Linked DNA regions of Homo sapiens: region 2 is linked to region 1. Evidence: promoter capture Hi-C in human tissues and cell types (Jung and others, 2019). All regions are on one chromosome and are shown on one strand. Each heading gives the region's core, a stretch centred on a gene start or on the middle of the fragment in contact. The rest is flanking DNA. Distances are from core to core; before and after follow the strand shown. Region 1 holds the start of BHLHE23 (basic helix-loop-helix family member e23). Region 2 overlaps TCFL5 (transcription factor like 5).

Evidence for each region. The method cuts DNA at HindIII sites, captures the fragments that hold promoters and counts their contacts. A contact is called where the count stands out against the background at its distance.
Region 2: a fragment that was not itself captured here is called in contact with the fragment with the promoter of BHLHE23 in region 1 in 1 of the 25 tissues and cell types used here (pancreas).

What each region holds. Positions count from the first base shown.
Region 1 is chr20:63,004,594-63,009,047 of GRCh38, reverse strand. It overlaps BHLHE23 (basic helix-loop-helix family member e23), which reads left to right and starts at 2,084. Exons shown (of 1, transcript NM_080606.4): 1 at 2,084-3,121. The coding sequence starts at 2,274. The coding sequence ends at 2,999. RefSeq lists enhancers at 31-100, 952-1,659, 1,660-2,365. The HindIII fragment of the contact is 18,098 bases long and covers 1-4,454 here.
Region 2 is chr20:62,855,000-62,859,453 of GRCh38, reverse strand. TCFL5 (transcription factor like 5) reads left to right here. Exons shown (of 6, transcript NM_006602.4): 3 at 1-90; 4 at 1,816-2,059. Among named protein-coding and RNA genes, the nearest start is that of TCFL5, 4.6 kb to the left of the region's middle. The HindIII fragment of the contact is 4,926 bases long and covers 229-4,454 here.

The DNA of each region.
Region 1 (4,454 bases), core at 835-3,334:
CTGGGAACTGGCCCAGAGCCCTGGCTCCCTGCTGGGGAGTTCGGACCTCCCAAAGCCCCGGCCCAGCCCCAACCCCAGCCCCATGGCGTCAGCGTCTCTGGCTTTAATGGGGACCCTGCTCCAGCCGATGCTTTGAAAGCCACTCTCACCCACACCCGTGATGTCAATTACCGCGTACCCCTCAGAGGCCTCCCCACCAGCGCTGGCTGCACCTCCCCTCGGGGGCCTCCTGCATTCTCCAGCTCCATAGCTTTCCCTCCTGGTCAACCCCATCCTCCTGCTCCCCCAGCTCCGGGGACCTGTGGAGCCACCTTCCCCCATGGCCCCCACCAGCCCTGCAGTTCAGGCCCAGGAGGAGGCCCCGCAGCCCCGGACCGCACCGGCAGCAGTGCCAGAGTGGCTCTCCGAATGGCCACGGCGCCTTTCTTCCCATAAAGACCAAACTCCCCGCGTGATTCAAACTGTCCCACAGGCCTGGTCCCGCCCCTCTATCTCCTGGCCCCACCCGGGCCCCTCACTGCCCTTCCCTGTGCCAGGCCTCCTCCGGCCACCTGAATGCTCCCCCGACCCCGGCCCGTGGCCACAATGACACCCACTCACCCTTCAGACCCAGGCCCAAACACAGCGGCCTCCTCCACACCAGGTATCCTCAATTCCCGGTCTGTGCATCAGCCCCGAAGGCGGGGTGGGGTCCCAGGACAGCGCCTCAGACAGACGCTTCCATCCTCGGGGCCCCTGCGCTCCTGGCGGGCGTGTGCTGGGGGTGAGGCCGGTGCTGCAGGACGCGCAGCCAGACAGGCCGCCAGCCCGGCAGAGGCTGCCTCAGACCCATTCCCCTCCGCCAGGACAAAGGCCTGAGTTTCCCACGGAGACTTATCCATGCATCTGTCTCCTCACACCCCGCACCTGGCAGGGAACCACCGGACAGGCCGGTCACTGCTGCGTTCCCAGAACCTTCCAGACAGCACATCCGCCCCACACACGTGCAGCTCCCACTCCCCTCCCGGGGCTGCGCACACTGCCCCATCGCTGTGGCTCCTCCTGGGGCGGAGCCTGGAGAACAGGGAGGGTATGCGGCCCTTCCCAGGTCACACAGAAGGGCCCGACGGGCCGCTCCACCTCGTGCCATAGGCCAGGGTGGCCCAGTCTCCCACCCAAGCCAGGACCGGAGAAGCCACTATCCCTCAGCACACTCTAGCCTCAGCACTCGGCCGGGCCTCCAGGCAGGTTCCCACCTGGGAGAAGGGCTGGGGTTCTGGCCTTCATGCGGGGTTGGAAGAGGACTGAAAAGGCGAGTCCGAGGCTGGCCACATTCCCATCCAGTGTGGCTGGACCCCAGGGGTTCGGAGGCTCCGGGAAAGCCCACCAAGCCTCACGCGTTTCGCTGATAGATGCCCAGGAAGCGGCTGGCAGGGAAGAGGCGGTCCTGCAGCTCACAGAGCTCCCCTCCCACCCCCGGGGAGCCCCAGGCCGCGCTGCCCTCCACCTTCCCGCCCTCCCCGGCCTGCAACGCTCGTGGCGTTTTTCAACAGGTTCTAGAAACTCCCTCTCACTCTGCCCCTCAAGCCTGGCCACAGGGCGCCCCGAGCAGGGAGTGTGCGGGCTCCGGGTACACGCTGCGCCGCGGCTGCACCAGAGCGCCCACGACCCTGACCCCGACCCGAAGCGGCCCCTCAGCGGGACAGGGTGTTGGCGCTGGCGCTGCTGCTATTGCGGCGCGCCCCCCCGCTCTGGCCCCTGCGTGTCGCCAGGGACTCTTGCGCTAGGGTCAGACTCAAAGACGGACCGAGGCGGGTGCCCACCTGGGACGCGTGCGTTTGGTGGCGGAATCCCCGGGGCGGCCGGAGGCGGCGGCCGGGGAGTCGAGAAGCAAGTACTAGCGCTCCAGGACCGCGCGCGCCGCCCCGCGCCGCCCCGCGCCGCCCCTCGGTCCAGAGCCCCCACCCCCGGCCTGTGAGCCTGCGGCGCTGGTGGAGCCCGGCTCCAGGAAGAGGAGCTCACCCGGTCCCCCCTGATTGGACAGCAGCGAGGTCCCACCGGGCGCCTCCGCGGCTTAAAACCGAAGCGGGGGCGAGGGGGAGGTAGAGCCCGCCCCCTGCGCGTCGCGGCTGGGAGGGAGAGGAGGTGGGAGAGAAGGAAGAGGCGGAGGAGGCAGCGGGCGCCGAGGCTCTGGGACCCGCAGGCAAGCCAGACCGACGCGCAGAGCCGGGAGCCTCATCGCAGCGGCAGCGGCAGCGGCGGGCTCGGGCCGGCCTCGGGGGCTGCTCACCCACATGAGCATCCGCCCACCCGGCGAGCCCCCGAGCCCAGGCGGCGCGGCCATGGCCGAGCTCAAGTCGCTGTCGGGGGACGCGTACCTGGCACTAAGCCACGGCTACGCGGCGGCGGCTGCGGGTCTCGCCTACGGGGCGGCGCGAGAACCCGAAGCGGCCCGCGGCTACGGCACTCCGGGCCCGGGCGGCGACCTCCCCGCGGCGCCTGCACCTCGCGCCCCAGCTCAGGCGGCGGAGAGCAGCGGCGAACAGAGCGGGGACGAGGACGACGCCTTCGAGCAGCGGCGGCGGCGGCGCGGGCCAGGGAGCGCGGCGGACGGGCGGCGGCGGCCGCGAGAGCAGCGGTCTCTGCGGCTCAGCATCAACGCGCGCGAGCGGCGGCGCATGCACGACCTAAACGACGCGCTGGACGGGCTGCGAGCCGTCATCCCCTACGCGCACAGCCCGTCGGTGCGCAAGCTCTCCAAGATCGCCACGCTGCTGCTCGCCAAGAACTATATCCTCATGCAGGCGCAGGCCCTGGACGAGATGCGGCGCCTGGTGGCCTTCCTCAACCAGGGCCAGGGCCTGGCCGCGCCCGTAAACGCCGCGCCCTTGACGCCCTTCGGCCAGGCCACTGTGTGCCCCTTCTCCGCAGGCGCCGCCCTGGGGCCCTGCCCTGACAAGTGCGCCGCCTTCTCCGGGACGCCCTCCGCGCTTTGCAAACACTGTCACGAGAAGCCGTGACCGCGCGGGCCCCCGGCCCTCCCGCACGCGTCCTCCGATCGCCCCTGTGACTGTCTCTCTGCCCGGACAGGAAAGGCCTGGAGGGACCCTGCAGACCAGGAGGAGGGGGCCCGACTTCGCTTCCAGCCTGTGCGCGGTGGACAGTTTAGCGCAGCGGGAAGCGCCAAGGCCGTCGGGGCGCGGGATTGAGCTCGAGAGCCGGACGCTGGACTCTGCGCCCGGGAACTCGCGGCACCCACTGGGTATTGTCGGGACCCAGCAAGTCTAGGAACGGGGGTGGGTAGAGCATCCTTCGGGCACTGCCGTTCGTCCCCAAAAGAAGACCACCGCGGGGTCCCAGGGCCACGGCGAGGACGGGCACTGGTCAGATTCCGGACAGGCGGTCCTGGCCCCGGGCGCACGAAAGGTGGAGACGAAGAAAAGCCGGACTTACTGGCTCCTGATCCTCTTGCAGTGGGCCTCGCGCTCCCGCTCCAGCCGGCCCTTCGTGCTAAACTGCAGGGCAGTGCTCTGTTCCTGAGGACGCGCGTGGCCGGCACCTCCCACCTCGGTGACTCCGAGACTCCGCAGCCCTGCGGAGAGCCCACGATGGCCGTCTGCAGAGGAGCTGGACCGCGGGCGCAGGAAGACCCCGGGGAAGGCCTTTTCCAAGTAGGAGTTTGTTCTATTTATTTGGGAATTGGACGCCGTCGCCGGCTGCCTCGAAGTCTGAGGAATTTGTCCCCTAAATGTCCCCTGGCCTCCCCCCCCCGCCGCCATCCGCTGCCTGGGACGTCCGCGGGGTGGAGTTGGATGGAGACCGCTTTGCGGGCCCTCTGCCTCGGGGGGCTGCGTGGAGGAGGGTCCTCACAGCCCGCGCCCTACTTAACCCTGACGGTCAGGGGAGGGCCCCGTCTAGCCCTGGTGTCCAGCAAACCCCCTCCCCACCGATCCCCTCTCCCTTCCGAGGGAGGAGGCCGGGCTACGGGTGAGTAAGCTGCTGCGGGCCCCGTGCCCCGCCGGGTGTGAACGGAGATGCGCTGCGCAGTGCCCGTCCTGCGCAGCTCCCAGCTCTGCCACCATCCGGGATCCAGGGAGCCGGGCAGGGTGCCCCCGGGGACCCATCTGTCCGCGCCGGTTTGCGCCCCGCGGCCCCGCCGCAGTATCCGGCTTTATTAACCCAATTTCCTCGGCTGTCGGTAATGCCAAGGGGAGAGGGCCGCCGCCCTGCAACGCGCCTGTCTACAGCGTTTAACTCTGATTAATACATTCCACAGGGCCTTCTGTACTTGCAAAATCAAGTGTATGGTTAAGTCTTATTCATAAAGACATATGCCTAATACTGGTTTCTGCTAATTTCCACTTTTATTTCTTCATTGTCTTTTTTTTTTCCCCTAACAGACTAGTTTATCAGTTTTGCACATTCGAAAAGCTGAGTGCCAGACACCGTTTTTCCCCTTTTAGATAAAGTGGGAA
Region 2 (4,454 bases), core at 1,442-3,941, 150 kb after region 1:
TCTGTTATCAGCAAGAAATTGAATCCACTAAACAGACGTTAGGTAGTAGAAACAAAGTTTTGCCTGAGCAAGTTTGGATTAAAGTGGGAGGTAAGCGATGAAGCAGCAGGTAGTGGGAGCTTTCTTCTGACTGAGCCCTGTGGCTGATGGCATTTTGGCCTTGGGGGGCAGGGGAGACAGATGGTTTGTACACATGTGAAACAGTCTTGGAGGTGTCTGTGTATCTCAGGGGTCTGTCCACCCGCTTCCCTGTCTTTTCGCTTTAAACATTATTCTGATTCTCAAACATAATTAATCTTGGTGTGAGAACGTTGCGTTTGAGGGCTTTTTCTTAACAGTAAAGTGATAGACTTACATAAATTTTCAGTTATTTTCAAGTTACTGAAAGTACTTTATAGTTTTTTATTTTCCTTATGTTATACTCGATGAGTGAGGCAGTCATCTAACATCTGCCGAAAGCCTTTGGATAGGTGGCTGCTAATAGGAGGACCCTATTAGGGCTGCCAGGGAGAGGCTGTAAGGTGATTCGGAAAGTTTGGAAATAAAGTCACTGCTGAAGGCACTGCTGCGCTAACCTGCATAGTCCCTTCCTCCCTGGGAAACACCTGCGTAGCCCCTTCCTCCCTGGGAAACACCTGCGTAGCCCCTTCCTCCCTGGGAAACACCTGCGTAGCCCCTTCCTCCCTGGGAAACACCTGCGTAGCCCCTTCCTCCCTGGGAAACACCTGCGTAGCCCCTTCCTCCCTGGGAAACACCTGCGTAGCCCCTTCCTCCCTGGGAAACACCTGCATAGCCCCTTCCTCCCTGGGAAACACCTGCGTAGCCCCTTCCTCCCTGGGAAACTGATTTGTGAAGTGACCCGAAAAAAGAACACTCCTTACACTTAGCTTTCCAAGAGTTGGTGAAGACAAGATGGGGAGGAAGAGCTACCGCCTTCTCCCATGTCAGTCCTTCCTTTTCCTCCCTATAAAATTTTATGCCAAAGTATATGTTCACATTTGTAAGATACAAAGATGAGTATTAAAGCAGCCTCTGTGCCGACTACTCAGGTTAAGGAATAAAATATCACCAAAACGACCGAATTCCTCTCTCTCCTGCTGAAAGCTTCATCATCCTTCTGAAATGGGTGCTTTGTGTGGCATACGCGTGCACATGAGCACGCCTGCCAGTCACGTGCCTGTGGTCCTTTGATGGATACAGTTCCACTGACGCACACGTGGCATAGCCTGTCACGCAGCAGAAAAGCTCGGACGCTACTTCTTCCTGCTTTGGGGAGGAGAGCCACTTCTGCGGCGAGGGCACACACACACGCTGCTGCAGTTTTGTTCTGAGCATTGCAGTAAAAATACTGTCATATTAGAATAATTGTTTTTTTTTCTTGTTCTTAGAATAATTGTATATAAAGAAAATATTTTTGGGAGGAAATATGTCCAGGTGGTTTGTTGTTGTTGTTTTTTTTTTTCCATTCTGACCTTTAGAAAAAGTAAACAACTTCTTGTTTTCTGTATTCATAGATAACACCTGTTAATTAAAAAGAGGGGCTTTGGATGAGGTCATATTGGTTGCATAGCACTTGGAAAACGTATTTAGTGTGATGATTGATTCTTGTTCAGTTTCGTTGTATAAAATAGGCTTGGGCTTCATGGTCCCTGCTGATGCTGAAAAACTGCATTAGTACATCTCTTTGTGTTTCGGTTCTCTGTGCTGCTTACCCAATAATGTTTATATCTTGGATTGAAAAGGCCAAAACTGTATTCAGCATTAATTGAGATAAGAATACAAAATTAAAAACCACTTTTTTCTTCTTTCGCAAAGAAGCAGCGCTATGCAAACAAGCACTGAAGAGGAATCGGAGTAGAATGCGTCAGTTGGACACAAATGTAGAGCGAAGAGCCCTTGGAGAGATTCAGAATGTGGGCGAAGGTGCCACCGCCACACAAGGCGCTTGGCAGTCCTCGGAGTCCTCACAGGCAAACCTGGGGGAGCAGGCCCAGAGTGGGCCCCAGGGAGGAAGGTCTCAACGTAGGGAGAGGCATAACCGAATGGAAAGAGATAGAAGGTAATACGTGTGACTGCTTGTCAGGCTGACTCATATATGATTACCTTAGTCATACATGGTTATCACAGATGAGTGATCCTTAGCCGTTTCTGCGTTCAGAGGGAATAAAGCAGGTAGGAGCATCGTTAGCTTTCCCAGATGGATCAAGGATCCCCCAGACTATGCCCAGGCTCGCTGGCTCACTAGGAGGACTCCCGGGACTCCGCATGCAGTCACTCTCAGGCTGTGACTTACTATGGAGAAAGGATGCCAGGTGCGATCAGCAAAGGCGCGTGGGGAGAAGGCAGGAGCTGAGGTGCAAGCTTCTAAGAGCGCGCCCTGTGGAGTCAGGCAGGTTGCCCCTCATGCCCCCAGCCATGTGGTCTGAAAACGTGGGTGAGGTGTTGCCAACCAGGAAAGCTCGCTAGAGACCAGGGGCGTGTCACGTAGGCACTGCCCCCATGCATGCAACCACAGTCCAGTCTCCCAGAAGGAAAGCAGTTGTTCAGTGTCAGCCATATCGTTTGCACAGTGTAGGTTCTGGGGGCACTCTTAACTCCCTGAATCTAGGTTTGCAGACTCCACTAAGGGCCAGCCCTGACTGCAGGCCTTTCTGAGGAGAGTGGTCAGGCTGTTTTGGTAACTGCTGCTTACCAGCCAGCTTGAGTTCAGCAAGTTTTGCCTGGTTCTTTTTTTTTTTTTTTTTTTTTGAGACGGAGTCTTGCTCTGTCGCCCAGGCTGGAGTGCAGTGGCGCGATCTCTGCTCACTGGAAGCTCCGCCTCCCGGGTTCATGCCGTTCTCCTGCCTCAGCCTCCTGAGTAGCTGGGACTACAGGCGCCTGCCACCACACCTGGCTAATTTTTTTGTATTTTTTAGTAGAGACGGGGTTTCAGCATGTTAGCCAGGATGGTCTTGATCTCCTGACCTCGTGATCTGCCCGCCTCGGCCTCCCAAAGTGCTGGGATTACAGGTGTGAGCCACCGCTCCTGGCTATTGCCTGGTTCTTTTAAGATTGCTGGGAAGGAAGAGGTTAAAATTGTTATTTAAGTGGTTTTGTCTGTAGATTTTATTTGTGGTATCCTTCTTTGTAGAATTAAGAGTGGTTAATTTTTTTCTATTATAATTGGGTTTTCTTTTCTTTTTCTTTTTTTTTTTTTTTTTTGAGACGGAGTCTTGCTTTGTCACCCAGGCTGGAATAGTGCAGTGGCATGATCTCGGCTCACTGCAACCTCCGCCTCCCAGGTTCAAGCGAGTCTTCTGCCTCAGCCTCCCCAGTAGCTGGGATTACAGGTACCCGCCACTACGCCCAGCTAATTCTTGTACCTTTTAGTAGAGATGAGGTTTCACCATATTGGCCAGGTTGGTCTCGAACTCCTGACCTTGTGATCCGCCTGCCTCGGCCTCCTAAAGTGCTGGGATTACAGGCATGAGCCACCACACCCGGCCTATAATTGGGTTTTCATAGAATATTTCCCTAATCTATAATTAATTAACTACATAATGTATCGAGTACTGGTACTGTGTACCAGTTTCTGCTTTAAGTTCAGGAAATAAATAACAGTGAGTGAGACAAATACTCAGGTTTGAAGCTCCAAGGTTGAATGTTGAGCTAAGGCAATTTATTTATTTATTTATTTTTTTATTTGGTGAGATGGAGATTTACTCTTGTTGCCCAGGCTGGAGTGCAATGGCACGATCTCGGTTCAACGCAACCTTCGCCTCCCAGGTTCAAGCGATTCTCCTGCCTCAGCCTCCTGAGTAGCTGGGATTACAGGCATGCGTCACCACGCCCAGCTAATTTTGTATTTTTAGTACAGGAGGGGTTTCTCCATGTTGGTCAGGCTGGTCTCGAACTCCTCACCTCAGGTGATCCACGTGCCTCGGCCTCCCAAAGTACTGGGATTACAGGCTTGAGCCACTGCGCCTGGCATGGCAATTTCTTTTAAAGGGATCTATTCAAACTTGCTGGGGCAGGGTGCAGTGGCTCATGACTGTGGGCCGAGGTGGGAGGATTGCTTGAGCCCAGGAGTTTGAAACCAGCCTGGGCAACATAGCAAGTCCCCGTCTCTAAAGAAAAACCAACAATACTAGTAGTGGTGGTGTTGCACACCTGTCGCCCCAGCTACTTGGGAGGCTGAGGTGTGGGAGGATCACTTGAGCCTGGGAGGTCAGCGCTGTAGTCAGCTGTGATCATGCCACTGCACTCCAGCCTGGGCCACAAAGTGAGACCCATCCCCCAAAGAAAGAAAATTAAAAAGCTAGCTAATATCTTTTTATGATACTTTTATACACATGGACTAACTGAGGGCCTTCCTCACCCTACTGTGAATTATGAAGGGCATTTTGCTCCGACATTTATTTAATAGACATTTATTGAGTACCTGCTATGTGGAAAGCCTTACACCGTACGTTGAC